2 separate regions of the Homo sapiens genome follow, and region 1 is linked to region 2. Evidence: promoter capture Hi-C in human tissues and cell types (Jung and others, 2019). All regions are on one chromosome and are shown on one strand. Each heading gives the region's core, a stretch centred on a gene start or on the middle of the fragment in contact. The rest is flanking DNA. Distances are from core to core; before and after follow the strand shown. Region 1 overlaps MIAT (myocardial infarction associated transcript). Region 2 holds the start of CRYBB1 (crystallin beta B1).

What was found. The method cuts DNA at HindIII sites, captures the fragments that hold promoters and counts their contacts. A contact is called where the count stands out against the background at its distance.
Region 1: a contact is called between a fragment that was not itself captured here and the fragment with the promoter of CRYBB1 in region 2, in 1 of the 25 tissues and cell types used here (thymus).

Annotation. Positions count from the first base shown.
Region 1 is chr22:26,662,006-26,668,796 of GRCh38, forward strand. It overlaps MIAT (myocardial infarction associated transcript), which reads left to right. Exons shown (of 5, transcript NR_033320.3): 2 at 1,311-1,393; 3 at 3,526-4,932; 4 at 5,180-5,305; 5 at 6,153-6,791. Among named protein-coding and RNA genes, the nearest start is that of MIATNB, 7.4 kb to the right of the region's middle. RefSeq lists enhancers at 1-59, 3,128-3,628, 5,988-6,571, 6,572-6,791. The HindIII fragment of the contact is 5,066 bases long and covers 2,458-6,791 here.
Region 2 is chr22:26,611,926-26,619,645 of GRCh38, forward strand. CRYBB1 (crystallin beta B1) reads right to left here and starts at 6,102. Exons shown (of 6, transcript NM_001887.4): 1 at 6,052-6,102; 2 at 4,215-4,413; 3 at 147-265. The coding sequence starts at 4,394. It also overlaps a transcript of CRYBA4 not described here. RefSeq lists enhancers at 1,767-2,445, 5,156-5,833, 6,512-7,187. The HindIII fragment of the contact is 18,434 bases long and covers 1-7,720 here.

The DNA of each region.
Region 1 (6,791 bases), core at 3,741-6,240, 49 kb after region 2:
GAATGCAGTGGAGCAATCGCGGTTCACTGCAGCCTCTACCTCCTGGGTTAAAGCGGTCCTCCTGTTGAAGCCTCCCAAATAGCCACAGGCACAGGTACACATAACCACGCCCAGCTAATTTTTGAATTTTTTGTAGAGGCAGAGCCTTGATCTGTTACCCAGGCTGATCGTGAACTCCTGGCCTCAAGCAATTCTCCTGCCTCTGCTTCTCAAAGTGCTGGGATTATGGTGTGAGCCACTGCGCCCAGTCCCTGCCCCTATTTGAATACACCCTCTGCCCCTTTGGGGTCCAAGAGGCCTGTTTAGAATCCTGGTTGCCTTATTTTCTAACTGAACCTCAGTTTCCTCATCTGTAAAGTGGGGATAATAAAACCCAGCTTGTTTTGCCATGTAGATAAAGACACTCCCAATTAGCATCTGTTCTTAATAAGTGTTAGTTTAGCTTTCTTTTCCTTCTTCTTGGTTTTCTTTCCTCTCTCTCCACTGCAGGGGTTCCCATGTTTGAAGGAGATTTGAATTCTGAATCTCCTCTTTTGTGGACATTGTGTTTGAATTCGTAAAGAAACAGCGCTTTAATTCTCCTCTGCAGAAGCATCTGCTTCCCCCAGCATGTCTCCTGCGAGGCGCGTGGCACATTTTCATTATTCTCTGGAGCTTCCGTTATCTCTGGGTGCTGGCTCATCCAAGGCAATTTGGGCCAACATCTCTTGTACGTCTCAGATCTCCGAGTAGTCATTTTATTCCAGAGTCAGGGAAAAAGACCAAAAACCCAGAGGGATTCTAAAATGCAACAAATGTATGTTTTCCTGGCAGCTGCCCATCCATTACTAAGAACAGTACATGCTGTTTAGCGGGAAAAATGAATATCTCATGGGTAGTGTTAATGAACTGTGTGGTCAGTGATAATAATAATAATGATGTAAGAAAATGGTAGAATTCAAGCTAAGTCTCATTCATCTTCTCATTTGATCCTCATGACAACCCTGTGAGGTGGGCACTGTTATTATCCTTAGTTTGTGGATGAGAAGACTGAGGTTCACTGTGGTAAAGGACTTGGTCAAGGTCACACAGTTTGCCGGTGGCAGAGCAGCACAGGAATCCATGCCATAAAACCCATGTTAGGATGTATTGGTTGACACTGGCCTGATCAAAATACCTCCTTGTTTCCTGTTTTGCTTTTGATCTGCATCCAAGGAGATCAGTTTTGGGAAACGCTGTGATTTGAAACAGGACCTTAGCATCTATTCTCCACTGTACCCATGGGTATGTATTTATTCTCTCACTGCTGTCTCTTTTTCTCTTGATGACAGTTGGAGGCATCTGTCCACCCATGTGGTTCCAGACACGTTCATGTGGCCACCATGACCCCGTCGGCATCACAGGGGTAACCAAGGTGATCCTCCCTCTCTTCCTGTGTCCACTGGGGATGGTAGAGACCAGCTTAATGCTTTGAGATCAGATCCATCACGAAATCCGTATGTCCTGAGACCTCCTGAATCTTAAGGTGGGAGAGACTTCTGATGACCCTCTGGGTTCCAGTTCCCCAATCGTGGCTTTCCCGACTGACCTTGGCTTGAAGTGGGTGGTCTGTGTGGCCTAGTGAAAGCTGAGATGATGAGGCCCTGGTGCTCACAACTGGTTCTTTGTGCGGCCTTTGATCTGGCACTTTTTAGTTCCAGTCCTCTTTCATCACATACAAATGAGTTTTACAAAAATAACTTTATTGAGGTATAATTTACATACAAGGAAATGCACCCGTTTAAAGCACACATTTCAATGTGTTTTGACAAAGGTATACACCTGTGTAACCATTGCCACAATCAGGATGTAGAACATTTTCATCGTTCTAAAATGTTCCCCTGTATTCCCTCCCAGCCAATCCCCTCTCAGCCCCAGTCCCAGCCCCAGTCCCAGGAAACCACTGACCTGCTTTCTCAGAAGTAGATTGGATTCTTTTTTTTTTTTAATGTTCCATATATATGGAAGCTTCTGTGTTCAGCTTTTTTTTTTTTTTTTTTTTTTTTGAGACAAGATCTCGCTCTGCTGTTTGGGCTGCAGTGCAGTGGAGCCATCTCGGCTCACTGCAACCTCCGCCTGCTGGGTTCAAGTGATTCTCCTGCCTCAGTCTCCCGAGTAGCTGGGATTACAGGTGTGCACCACCACACCCGGCTGATTTTTATATTTTTAGTAGAGATGGGGCTTTGCCGTGTTGGCCAGGCTGGTCTCGAACTCCTGACCTCGAGTGGTCGCCTCGGCCTCCCAAAGTGCTGGGACTATAGGTGTGAGCCACTGCGCCCAGCTGAGGCTCATACTTCCTGTTGCATGTCTCAGTAGTTCAATTCCTGTTCTATCCAATTTTATTGAGGCATAGTTTAAAAGTCATATAACTCACCCATTCAATGATTTTTAATAAATGTACCAAGTTGTACAACCTTCACCATAAATCAGTTTTGGAACAGTTCGGTTACCCCAGTAAGATCTCTCATACCCATTTACTGTTCATCCACATCCCATCCATAACCCCAGGAACCACAAATCTATTTCTCATCTCGGTAGATTTTCCTTTTCTGGATATTTTGTATAAATGAGATCATACAATATGTGTTCTGTTGAGCCTAGCTTCTTTCCCTCAGCATGATGTTTGTAAGGTTCATCCATGTTGTAGTATGTACTAATAGTTTGTTCCTTTTTATTGATGAGTAGATTCCCTTATGTGGATAAGCCAGACTTTGCTTTTCCATTCATCAAGATAGGGGATTTTAATTTGATCAGTGCTGCCTAACTGTGGTATATACATATAATGCTACAGGATAAATATGGCTTATATTTCTGGAACATAAATATCACACACAGATTTACTTAAAGTTTAAATCATTGAGTGGTGAAAATAATTTTTGGAACATGTACTGTGTGCCAGGCACTGGCTAAGCTTTGAAAATCATTAACTTTGGACAGGTGTGGTGGCTCATGCCTGTAATCCCAGCACTTTGGAAGGCTGAGGCCAGCGGACTGCCTGAGGTTAGGAGTTCAAGACCAGTCTGGCCAACATGGTGAAACCCCGTCTCTACTACTAAAAAAAAAATAAGTTAGCCGGGCGTGGTGGCACACATCTGTAATCTCAGCTACTTAGGAGGCTTAGGCAGGGGAATCACTTGAACCCAGGAGGCAGAGGTTGCAGTGAGCCGAGATCATGCCACTGCACTCCAGCCTGGGTGACAGAGTGAGATCCTGTCTCCAGAAAAAAAGAAAGAAAGAAAGAAAGAAAGAAAGAAAGAAAGAAAGAAAAACAATTAACTTTGAGTCACACATTGAGTACGTAGGAGTGAGAGAGCCACAGTTTCCTCCAGGTTTCTCTAGCCCCAAAGCCCATACCTTCCTTTGTACCCTCTAAGACGGTGTCAGCTAAAGGTCCCTTGAAACCTCCATCACCTTATTAATATCATGACTCTAGGTCCACAGAACGAGGGGAAAGGGTCACTGTGGATCAAGCCAGGCTCCTCTGAGCAGTCCAGGGTCTATTTACAGAGAGCAGCAAGTTCCTGGGACAGAGGAGACAGAAGGGAATTTCCAGGTTCTTCAGGACGTTCACAACCACACTGAGAAGCATCTTTGCAGATAAGTATTTAAACTTACCAGCCCATAGCCTACCAGCCTGCCCTCTTCTGGTCTGTGCAGGAAAGTGTAGTATCCTAGAATGCCAAAGTGGGAGGGGAAATGGGTGATGTAGCTCATTCTCTTTTCTACCTCTATGGAAGAAAGAAAGAGCCTGTCCCCATTTTGTGGGGTCCCAGAAAGGGTGATTTTCACACTTCACATTTGGCGTTAGGGCTAGTATTTCACAAACATTACCGTCTGGAACTTTTGAAGGCTGAGTTAAATGACTTCATCTTGTGTACTTGTAGAACTGCTATTAGAAGGAGGCTGGGGACTCCCTGATGATGTGAACCAGCCCTTCTCTTCTCAGTTTCAGCACTTTGTGATCATATTTATAAACCTTGGACAGGGCTCCTTGGCCTTAGAGTTAAGTGAAGAGTTAACACTGTGACTTTAGATGCATTTTTCTCAGTGTAAGTGTCTGAGCTCATCTCCAGTTCTGGACTCGTGCCCCCACTCCCGGGTGCTGACAGCAAGCTCTGAAGATATGCTGAGAGAGCTCCCTGACTCTCCTGACTCAGGTCTGCCAGTTGATGAAGACAGCACAGTTGTTACCAAAAACAAAACCTGGCAGATGGTCCTAGGTCAGGATTAGTGGTCATTCTCTGGTCTTCTCCAGACTGGTGACACAGGGTGGTCTTAAAAGAGTCCTAGTCCAGCCTCTGGCTCCCCGAATTTCCTCTGGTGCATGGGGCATCAGGAAAGGGCAGGGGAGAAGGAGGGGGAGCAGAAAAATAACTGAGGCTGGGCAGAAGGGTCCCTTCCATTTCCCATCCATTGCTTCAAACAATGGGTGATTACCGTGCACCTTGAGTGAATGTCAAGGCAGGAAGGGTTCCAGGGCCACCCAGTGTGGCAGGAGCAGAGCTGGGATCAGAATTCTGGATTCCTGACTCTCCGTTCAGCTGCTATTCAGCTATCACCAAGCTGCTGAGTTTGTCCTACTTTCTCCTGGGTCACATTCTGCTGTTGTTGGGAAACAGGGAGTGAGTGAAGGGAACCTGGGAACCCTTCTCCCCTCACCTTTTAAGGATGTTCTGGGGTGGAATAAAGAGAGGTGGAGGGTGGGGTGCCTGGGCCCAGCCTCCCTGGCTCCTGGTCCTTCTTTCTTCAGCAGGGAGTTCTGGCAAGGCCTGGGCCTGGGGAGGGGGCCTGGGTGCAGTTTTCTCCTGCGGTGTGGTTGGCTCTTTTGTCTTCCAGGATGGGCCTGTGGGGTCTGTGTGGGGAAGGAAGGAGCTGGGAGCCTGGGCTGCCTGTGTGTCGGCTGGATGCTGCCAGGTAAGCCTGAGAGGGATGTGGGGAGGGAGGGAGGGAGGTCACATGGAGCTTGGTTTCATGGGGGTAGGTTGTCCTCCCACCTGTGCCCCCTCCTCAGGCCCAGAACGCTCCTGCTCATGAGAAGATGGCCAGGGAGCCAGGTGGCTGGAATGCTTGCTCTGTGTGGTCTTGGTGGGGGTGGGTGGGATGGAATCAAGACCATTGTGGGTGAGCTCGAGCAGAGAATTTAGCAAGTCCCTTCATTCAGCACCGGCATGGACCAAGCAACTTCTCTGAGCCAGATGCTGGGGACGCAGAGGTGAACCCAGAGACATGATCCCATCTGCTCAGATCTTCATGTCAGAACACGCTTTATTACAGTCTCGGCAAGGGGGTGAGCTCCTCGTCCTGGGAGCAGTGTGTGTGTGTGTGTGTGTGCGTGTGCACATGTGTGTGCATGCCTGTGTGTGTGTGCATGCGTGCATGTGTGTGCGCGTGTATGTGTGTGTATGCGCGCGTGTGTGTGTATGTTGGGGGTGGTGGTGTGCAGAGATCCTCCCAGTGGGAATGTTGTAAAATGAATTGAAGCCATCAAAGGCCTCTGAAAGTCCTTCCCATCCCCTCAAACCCTTGCCCTGTCTCTGCCCATGATGCTCCTGGAGCTTGCTATGGGCTCCCTTTACTGCTTTTCCTCTGGTCCCCTGAGCTAACCCTGCCTGGTGGGTATTCTCAGCTTTCATTGCTTCCTCTTTTTAGACAACTTTTTTTTCCTTTTTCTCAGAGACAGGGTCTCACTCTGTTGCCCAGGCTAGAGTACAGTGTTATGATCACGGCTCACTGCAGCCTTGAACTCCAGGGCTCAATACATCCTCCCACCTCAGCCTCCTGGGTAGCTGGGACTACAGGTGCATGCTACCATGCCTGGCTTATTTTTTGTAGAGACAGAGTCTCATTATGTTGCCCAGGCTGGTCTCGAACTCCTGGGCTCAAGTGATCCTCCTTCCTCAGCCTCCCAAAGTGCTGGGATTACAGGTGGGAGTCACTGTGCCTGGCCTAAGTTTCTTCTAAAAATGTTTCATGTCCAAAACCCTCACTTCCACCCTGTGTGTGTGCTGGGGGCATGAGAGACTGGGGGGATCTCTGAACATGAGTCCCCTCAGATGCAGAATTAGGCTGGGGGGATGTGGGAAGTTGGGGATGGAGGCTGTGGCCTCATCCTCACTCGCTGTCTTCTCCCCCAGGTGGCTCCATCTGGGCCGCATCTCCAGGACTCCTGGCCTGGACTTCTCTTTGGACCTCGGGTGACCTTGGATTCTGGCCACAGTGACTTAGCGGTCAGACTCCGGTGGTTTTCTAGCCCGCTGGGTGACTCCCTGAAGATCTCATCCTCTTCACACCTGTTGGGATGGAGCCTCCCATGGATAGGAACTCTTCCTGGTTGATGCTCAGCAGATGACTGATCTGGCTCTGGAGGACAGCTCCAGGGGTATGAGGGAGGCCTGGCAGCCCACTACTCCCTCCTCACCTGCTCGGGCCCTGCCTGCTGGGCCCTATTGTCTGGGTCTGGGGGCCCTTTCCTGCCCCATGTGAACTTGATTCCTCCTCGCGTTTCTGCCGGTGACCAGACAGAGCCTGGCCTGGGCCAAGTCCCCACTGACCACACTTTCCCCAAGGCTGGGTCTCAAAGGACCCTACAGGATGGGGACAGGAACAAGGATGGGAGTCGGGGAGGGGCTGTCAGGCAGAGGGCAGATGCAGCTCCTCGGGTGCCGCTGGCTGGAGTCCTTTGTCTCCATTTGCTCAGTGCGTAATTGTCATTTTGTGGGGGACTTCCTTGGTGGGGCTTTTCCATGCTTTTCCTCTCCCTGATGGTTACAAAG
Region 2 (7,720 bases), core at 4,852-7,351:
AGTTTGATATGAGGATTGGACATAATGTATGTGCCAGGAGTACGAACGGCCGCAGGCACAGAGCAGATGCTGGAGAAATGGCAGCTACTGTTGTGTGGTCATTTTACTGTGGCAGAGAGTGTGCCCCTCCGCCGCCCAGTACTCACGGTCCCGCGGAGACAATGATGCTGCGCACACGGTCGAAGCCACGGTCTGCCAGATTTGAGCACTCCCCCGAGAATTCTGCTCGACGGCCCTGGAAGTTTTCCAGTTCGAAGACCACCAGCTGCAGGAGAGAAGCCCCCATGCCAAGGGCAGAGTGAGGGGGGAGTCAAAAATTCATTAAGTATCTACATAAATAAAAGCCAGCAGTGCAGGAGTCACATAAAAGTGTGATGAGCCACAGTTTGTGAAATGATCCTGTCCTCCCATCCCCCAATTCTTTACTGATTTTTGTTTTTTGTTTGTTTGTTTGTTTTTCTGAGTCTCACTCTGTCGCCCCAGCTGAAGTTCAGTGGCGCAATCATGGCTCACTGCAACCTCCGCCTCCCAGGCTCAAGCGATCCTCCCACCTCAGCCTCCGAGTAGTTGAGATTACAGGCACCCACCACCATGCCTGGCTATTTTTTGTAGAGACAGGATTTTGCCATGTTGCTCAGGCTGGTCTCGAATTCCTGAGCTCAAATGATTGGCCTGCCTTGGCTTCCCAAAGTGTTGGGATTACAGGCATGAGCCATTGCACCTGGCCTCATGCCCTAATTCTGAAGCTAAGATCTGCGCCATCATTAGGAACTTATGAACCTCCCTTTCAGGCCTTTCTTTGTGCTATTCCTCCTGCCTGGAATGCCTTCTCCACCACACATATCCAGCTTGGAGCTCCCACTGCCTAACTGAAGTTCCCTAATACGCATTCCAGCTCGTTATTCTGTTTTAGGCTCAGGTGCCACCTTCTCCAGGAAGCCTTCTCTGATTGCCCCTTCCTCCATCGGCCTTGGTTGAGCATCCCCCACTGTCCTCTCCCCATTAGCAGCACAACTAACCCACCACACAGTCACTGCTGTTTTGCTTTGGGGTCTCCCTCTCTCTCTGCACTCCCTCTCTCCCATTACCCAGCCCCTCCAAAGACCAAGGACTCCTCCAGGGCAGGGCCTGAGGTTGATCAATTTCTGTATCTCCAGCCCCAGCCCCAGTACCTGCCACAGAGCTGATGCTCAGGAGACACTTGCAAATCCAACCCTCCACAACATAGGGGAAAACTTGAGCTAATCTTCTCTCCTCACTAAGCCTCATGTTTGGTTCCTTGTCCACTTGCTGTTCCAAGTTGGGACAACGTTGCCATTCACATGGACCAAGGCACAATTTTCTGCCTTCTTTGAGCCTCAGTTTCCCCAGCTGTAAGAGGAGGGGAGGTTCATATAACCATGACCCAGCACTTCCACTTCTACCTTTGGTTGCCCAAGAGAAACTCCTGTATGTGTGCCCCGGGATGTTGCGGGAAGTCAGGGACCCCAAACGGAGGAACTGGCTGAAGCCATGGCAGAAGAACGTGGATTGTGAAGATTTCATGGACATTTATTAGTTCCCCAAATTAATACTTTTGTAATTTCTTATGCCTGTCTTTACTGCAATCTGTAAACATAAATTGTAAAGATTTCATGGACACTTATCACTTCCCCAATCAATACCCTTGTGCTTTCCTATGCCTGTCTTTACTTTAATCTCTTAATCCTGTCAGCTGAGGAGGATGTATGTCGCCTCAGGACCGTGTGATAATTGCATTAACTGCACAAATTGTACAGCATGTGTGTTTGAGCAATATGAAATGTGGGCACCTTAAAAAAGAACAGGATAACAGCAATTGTTCAGGGAATAAGAGAGATAACCTTAAACTCTGACCGCCAGTGAGCCGGGCAGAACAGAGCCATATTTCTCTTCTTTCAAAAGCAAATGGGAGAAATATCGCTGAATTCTTTTTCTCAGCATGGAACATCCCTGAGAAAGAGAATGCGCACCTGGGGTTAGGTCTCTAAACTGGCCCCCCTGGGCGTGGTCGTCTCTTATGGTCGACGCTGCAGAGATGAGATAGACTCCAGTCTCCCATAGCTCTCCCAGGCTTATTAGGAAGAGGAAATTCCTGCCTAATAAATTTTGGCCAGACCGGTTGATCTCAAAACCCTGTCTCCTGATAAGATGTTATCAATGACAATGGTGCCCAAAACTTCATTAGCAATTTTAATTTTGCCCCGGTCCTGTGATCCTGTGATCTCTCCCTGCCTCCACTTGCCCTGTGATATTCTATTACCTTGTAAAGTACTTGATGTCTGTGACCCACACCTATTCTCACACTCCCTCCCCTTTTGAAACTCCCTAATAAAAACTTGCTGGTTTTTGCAGCTTGTGGGGCATCACGGAACCTACTGACATGTGATGTCTCCCCCGGACGCCCAGCTTTACAATTTTTCTCTTTTGTACTCTGTCCCTTTATTTCTCAAGCTGGCCGACGCTTAGGAAAAATAGAAAAGAATCTATGTGAATATCGGGGCAGGTTCCCCGATACCAGGAGACAGGGATAAGAACGTCCAAGCCATGCTGTTCACGAGAGCAAAGCTAGCAACCACTGAAATCGTGCTTAGCAGGAAAGAGATGGTCACGCTCTGAAATATCAGGCAGCAGCCAGAATGAATGGCCGGCAGTCATGCGCAACAATATGGATGGATATTAGGGATCTCATAGTAAGTGAAAAGTACAAAGAAAAGCCCAGAATAATCACATTGCATATTTCAATAAATTAAAAACAAGTAAATCGGCCAGTTGCGGTGGCTCACACCTATAATTCCAGCACTTGGGGAGGCGGAGGCTAGGAGTTCGAGACCAGCCTGGATAATATGGCAAAACCCGTCTCATAATTCGGTCTCAAAATAAATGAATAAATAAAACAAGTAAATAAATATACATGTGTATGTGTGTATACATTTTTAAAGGAATAATGCATAAAATTGTATACAAAAGCAAGCAAGCAGATTACAGACACAGGTTGAGGATAGGACAGTATTTCCTGGAGTTGGGGAGGAAAATGATGGACTCAAGGGAGACACCTTAGAGTTAGGTAGAAAGTTTTTAACCAAGTCCTGGCTTTTATATGGGTGGTGGGTTTGTAGGTGCATATTGCATTATTAGAAATTAAATAAAACTAATGATTAAATAGGTACATAAATAAAAACCTGCCACGCACTGACCACATGAGAGCGTGTCATGAACTAGGGGTTGCAAAATGGCCTACTTCTGTGACCTGAGGTTGAAACCACACCAAACCAAATCCCAGGGGACTGGACACCTTGCTCCACAGGATGCCTTTCAGCCCAGACCACCTCGAGCAATTTTGAGGGTCTGAGGCCATCCTGCTGCCCCAGTGAGCCTCCAAGGACAGCTGGTTCCCTGCTGCTAAGCCAGCCCACTTCCTTTTCTTCTTTTTTTTTCTTGCTTTCGATAAACTCTAAGCATGTGCGTGTGCAGGTGTAGCCTGATTGCCAGGTGTCCCTTCAGCTGTGAAGCGGTATGGTTTGGTTGTTGTTATTGCACAACTCAACTATAGGTCCCCTTTTTCTTTCTATTCTTTTCTTTTTTTTTTTGATGGAGTCTCCCTCTGTTGCCCAGGCTGGAGTGCAGTGGCATGATCTCAGCTCACTGCAACCTCCGCCTCCTGGGTTCAAGTGATTCTCCTGCCTCAGCCTCCCAAGTAGCTGGGATTACAGGCGCCCACCACTACGCCTGGCTAATTTTTGTATTTTTAGTAGAGACAGGGTTTCACCATGTTGGCCAGGCTGGTCTCGAACTCCTGACCTCAGGTGATCCACCTGCCTCGGCCTCCCAAAGTGCTGGGATTACAGGCATGAGCCACTGCGCCCGGCCCCACTTTCTCCAAGTGTGTCAGAACCCCTGGCTATTTTATGGGCTCCCAGATTGGCTGGGCCACACTTGTGTCCCAGAAGGAGGAGGGAGGAGGAGGCCAAGGTGAGGGAAAAAGAGAATAGGGACAGAGGATAAGAGTCTGGGGAGGTGGAGAAGAAGAAAAGGGAGAGTAAATAGAAAGGAGAGAAAATAAGCCAAGAAAAAGGAGGAGAAAGAGGTGCGGAGGAGTAAGAGGTGAAAGAGGAAGAGGAGGAGGAGAAGAAGGAGGAGGAGGGAAGGAAGGAAAGAAGGCATGGCACCCAGCCACTGCACCCCCAGGTCCTTACCCTGTAGTTCCCAGGAGGCAGTTCCGCCGCCTTGGCGCTGGTAATAGGCACGGTTGTTGGGGCCAGGGTAGTGCCGGGACTAGGGGATGTTCCTGCAGGTGGGGCCCCCTTCCCCTTGGTGTCAGGCCCTGGGTTCACCGCCACTGTGGCCGAGGCCGAGGCCTTTGCAGCCTGAGACATGGTTCCCGCCTGCAAAAGTCTGTAAAGAAACTCTGGCCTTCAGGGATGACACCCCCAAACTGCCTCCTGCCCTCATAGCCCCACATCCTGTGCTTTCAGCCTCCTTGGAGCTCGTTTCCTCTCTATCTCCTTCTGAAACGGTTAAGCCTGGAAGTTTTTCTTTCATCCCTACTTCCCAGCCAAGACCTTCCCGTCTGGGGGCCACTCATCCCACATATATCCTTCCTCCAGGCTTTTGACCATGCGGTTCCCTCCACTAGCTGTTCCACCCTCCATTACCCCGCTAGGTCCTTCCTTAGCCCCCTGCAATTTTCCACACTGCTTATCACACTGATTTGCTTGTGCAACTCCAATTTGCCTCCCTAGACTAATAACAAGAAGTCCCATTTGGGAGTACTTAAGGTGTGCCAGGCACTGTGACATACATTAATTAACCCATCTGACCATGAACCTCACCCGATGGAGTAGCTGCTATCATGATCCCCTCTGAGCAGCAGGGGGCTGGAGAAGGAAGGGGCCCAGCTCAGGCCCAAACAGCTACTAAGTGGTAGGGCTCTGATTTCAACTCAAGGAAATGGAGCCAGCAACTGGGCTTTTAAAGTATTCTGCCATTTGCTTAATCTGATTTATTCACCGTCCATCCCTAACACTTGCTCTGCACCTGGCACATAGGAGATGCCCAATTAACATTTGTTCAGAGAATGAATGAATGCATGCTCCCAGCTCCTTTCCCCGTCTGCTTCCTCTGAGGGGTTGGTGTATGGGTGCAAATACAGGCCGGGGACTGAGGCTTATGGGAGGACCCAAGAGGATGTATTTACTGCATGTGGAGGGTTCTGAAAATGAGGACTGGGGCTGGGTAGGCTTTGGGTGGAGAGGGCTTTGGTCAATTCCAGTGGTTCCTTGTTGCTTTGGGGTCGTGGACTCCTTTGAATGTTTGATGAATACCTCAACTTTGTCCCCGGACAAAAATAATGCTCTCTTTAACTTTGGAGACAATGTTAAGGGATTTGAGGACCCCCTGCTAGCACAGATTAAGACCCTCTGGTCAAGCTGATTCCCGAACACATTCTGTAAGGCGGAGCTAGTTGGGATAAGCACATCCCTCCCCCAGCCTCCTCCAGGAAGGCTGTGCATATTCTGGGGTGCCCCCTGTTCACCAGGGGTGAGGCCAGACATCTGGACCACATCTGTGGCTTTAAACACTCCCCCAGGGCTGGCAGCTGGACTCATGCCTTCCTGGAGATATTCTCATTCTCTCTCTCTCCCTGCTTCACCCTCTCCCTCTGTTCCTCCTCTCTTCCCTGTCTTTGCCTCTCTATCTGTTTCTTACTTCTCTCCCTCTTTCTGCCTATCTGCCTGTCTGTTTCTCTCCCTCTCTGTTCCTCTCTCCCCCACTATCTCTCCCTCATTGTATCTTTGCTTATCTCTCTATCTGTCCTTTTTAATTATATTTACTTCTCTCTCTATTTCTGTCTTTTCTCACTCTCTCCCCTCTCCCTCTCCCTCCCTTTCTTCCTCTCTCCACTTCCGTCTTTATCTCCATGGCCCTGCTCTCTGACTCTCATGGCACTGCTATCTCTGCCTCCCTCTCTCTGTCTCCCTTTTCTCTTCCCCTCCCCTTCAGCTCTCAGCTGGGCTGTGGGTTCCCTCTTACCTGGGGACTTGCTACTTCCTGCTGGAGGACAGGCAGGCGGGCAGGTGCTATGGGTGACTAGAGTCCGACCCCCCATTTTATAGTCTGGCAGACATCAGGCCCTATAGTCTGTGGCACAAAGGGGAAGCTGGCTCAGCAGGCCTGGGCAGGGAGTGGGGGACTGGGGCCCTGACCTCGCCTGGATCACTGCAGACAGCAGCACTTTCCTTTGTGAGACCAGCACACACAGCAGAAACCCTGGCCACAGCAGCTTCACCTTCCAACCCTACCCTGACTCCTTTCTCAACAACCCCAGCCAGGGATGGGCCCCCAAAAGGGTCCCTGCTGGCTGCCAACATGGGGCAGGGAAAAGGGGAGACCCTGGGAGGCAGGAGACCAGAGTTTGAATCCTGACTCAGCCACTGCGCGCTGTGTGGCTTTTGGTAGGTCTCTACCCCTAGGGGGGCCTCTGTGTCTGCAATTATAAGGTGGGCACGTGTCCCTGTTGGATGCCATATAGAAAAGAAGGTGACAATGAGCACAGAAGCGTTTTGTAAAGGCAGATGTGGGTTTGATATGGACAGCCTTTTTTACGGAGTGCTTACTGTGTGCCGAACCCGTGTTATCTCGGTCAGTCCCCGGGACAATCTGCCTTATTTGGTACTTTCATTATGCCCATTTCACAGAAGAGGAAAGTGAAGGCACAGAGAGGTCAGAGCCAGCCCAGGCCAGCCAGCTCTGGGCCTGTGTGCTTTCTTCTCCTGCTGTCCAGCCTTGACCTTGGCCTGAGGCCCCCTGGCCTGACTTCCTCTTTGTAGGTTGGGGTGGGAATGGGAGAGTCGCACTGTGCTCAGCTGGGTTGGATATCGGAGACCTGGGTCTTTTTCTTTTCCCCACATTGGGCCCCATCCTTTCCTGACCTATCGACAGTGATCCCTCTCGCCACCCCAGTTCCCCGCCTCTACCCAGGCCACGTTATCTGACCTGGAGGACAGTGCTGGTGGCCAGAAATATGACTGCCTGTCCCAGAGCCTCCTGCCCTGGCAAGCCCCAGATGCCCACCACATCTTGTTCACCACTGGCCCCAGCACCTAGCTGGGCCTGGCTAGGTAGAGCTTGGCACATCATGGGTTCTCAGTCAATAACTGGTGACTCAATGGTGGTTCCAATGGATCGGAACAGAAGGTAGGGTACGGAGGAGATAGGGAAACCAAGGCAAGGAGAGAGAAGTAAGGAGGCAGATAGAAGTAACAGACAAAGAGAGAGGTGGAGACAGAGACACAGAGAGGCACAGGGGACATGGACAGTGAAGGAGCGAGAGACGGAGAGACAGAGGTCAAGTTGGGGTGATCAAGCCTCAGGACGGAGGAACAGACGCCAGAAATCACAGGGCCCAATCCTCCCATTTCACAAATGGAGAAACCGAGGCCCAGGTGGAACAAATGACTTCAACATAGTCACATGGCGGGAACTCACAGTACAGCTGGGGTCAGAAGGAGCCTGGGGAGCTGCTCAGCTAGGTCACCTGCAGTCGGCTCCCCAGTCCCAGGCAGGGTATATTGCGGGGGCATCTGGATAGGCTCCTGTCTCTTCTTTTTCGGGGTTCTAGGCTCCCCGTGGAGCCCAGCTCTGTCTTGAACTCTCCCTGGCCTGGAGCCAGCTTTGCCTCTGTCCCTCCACCACCCAGCAC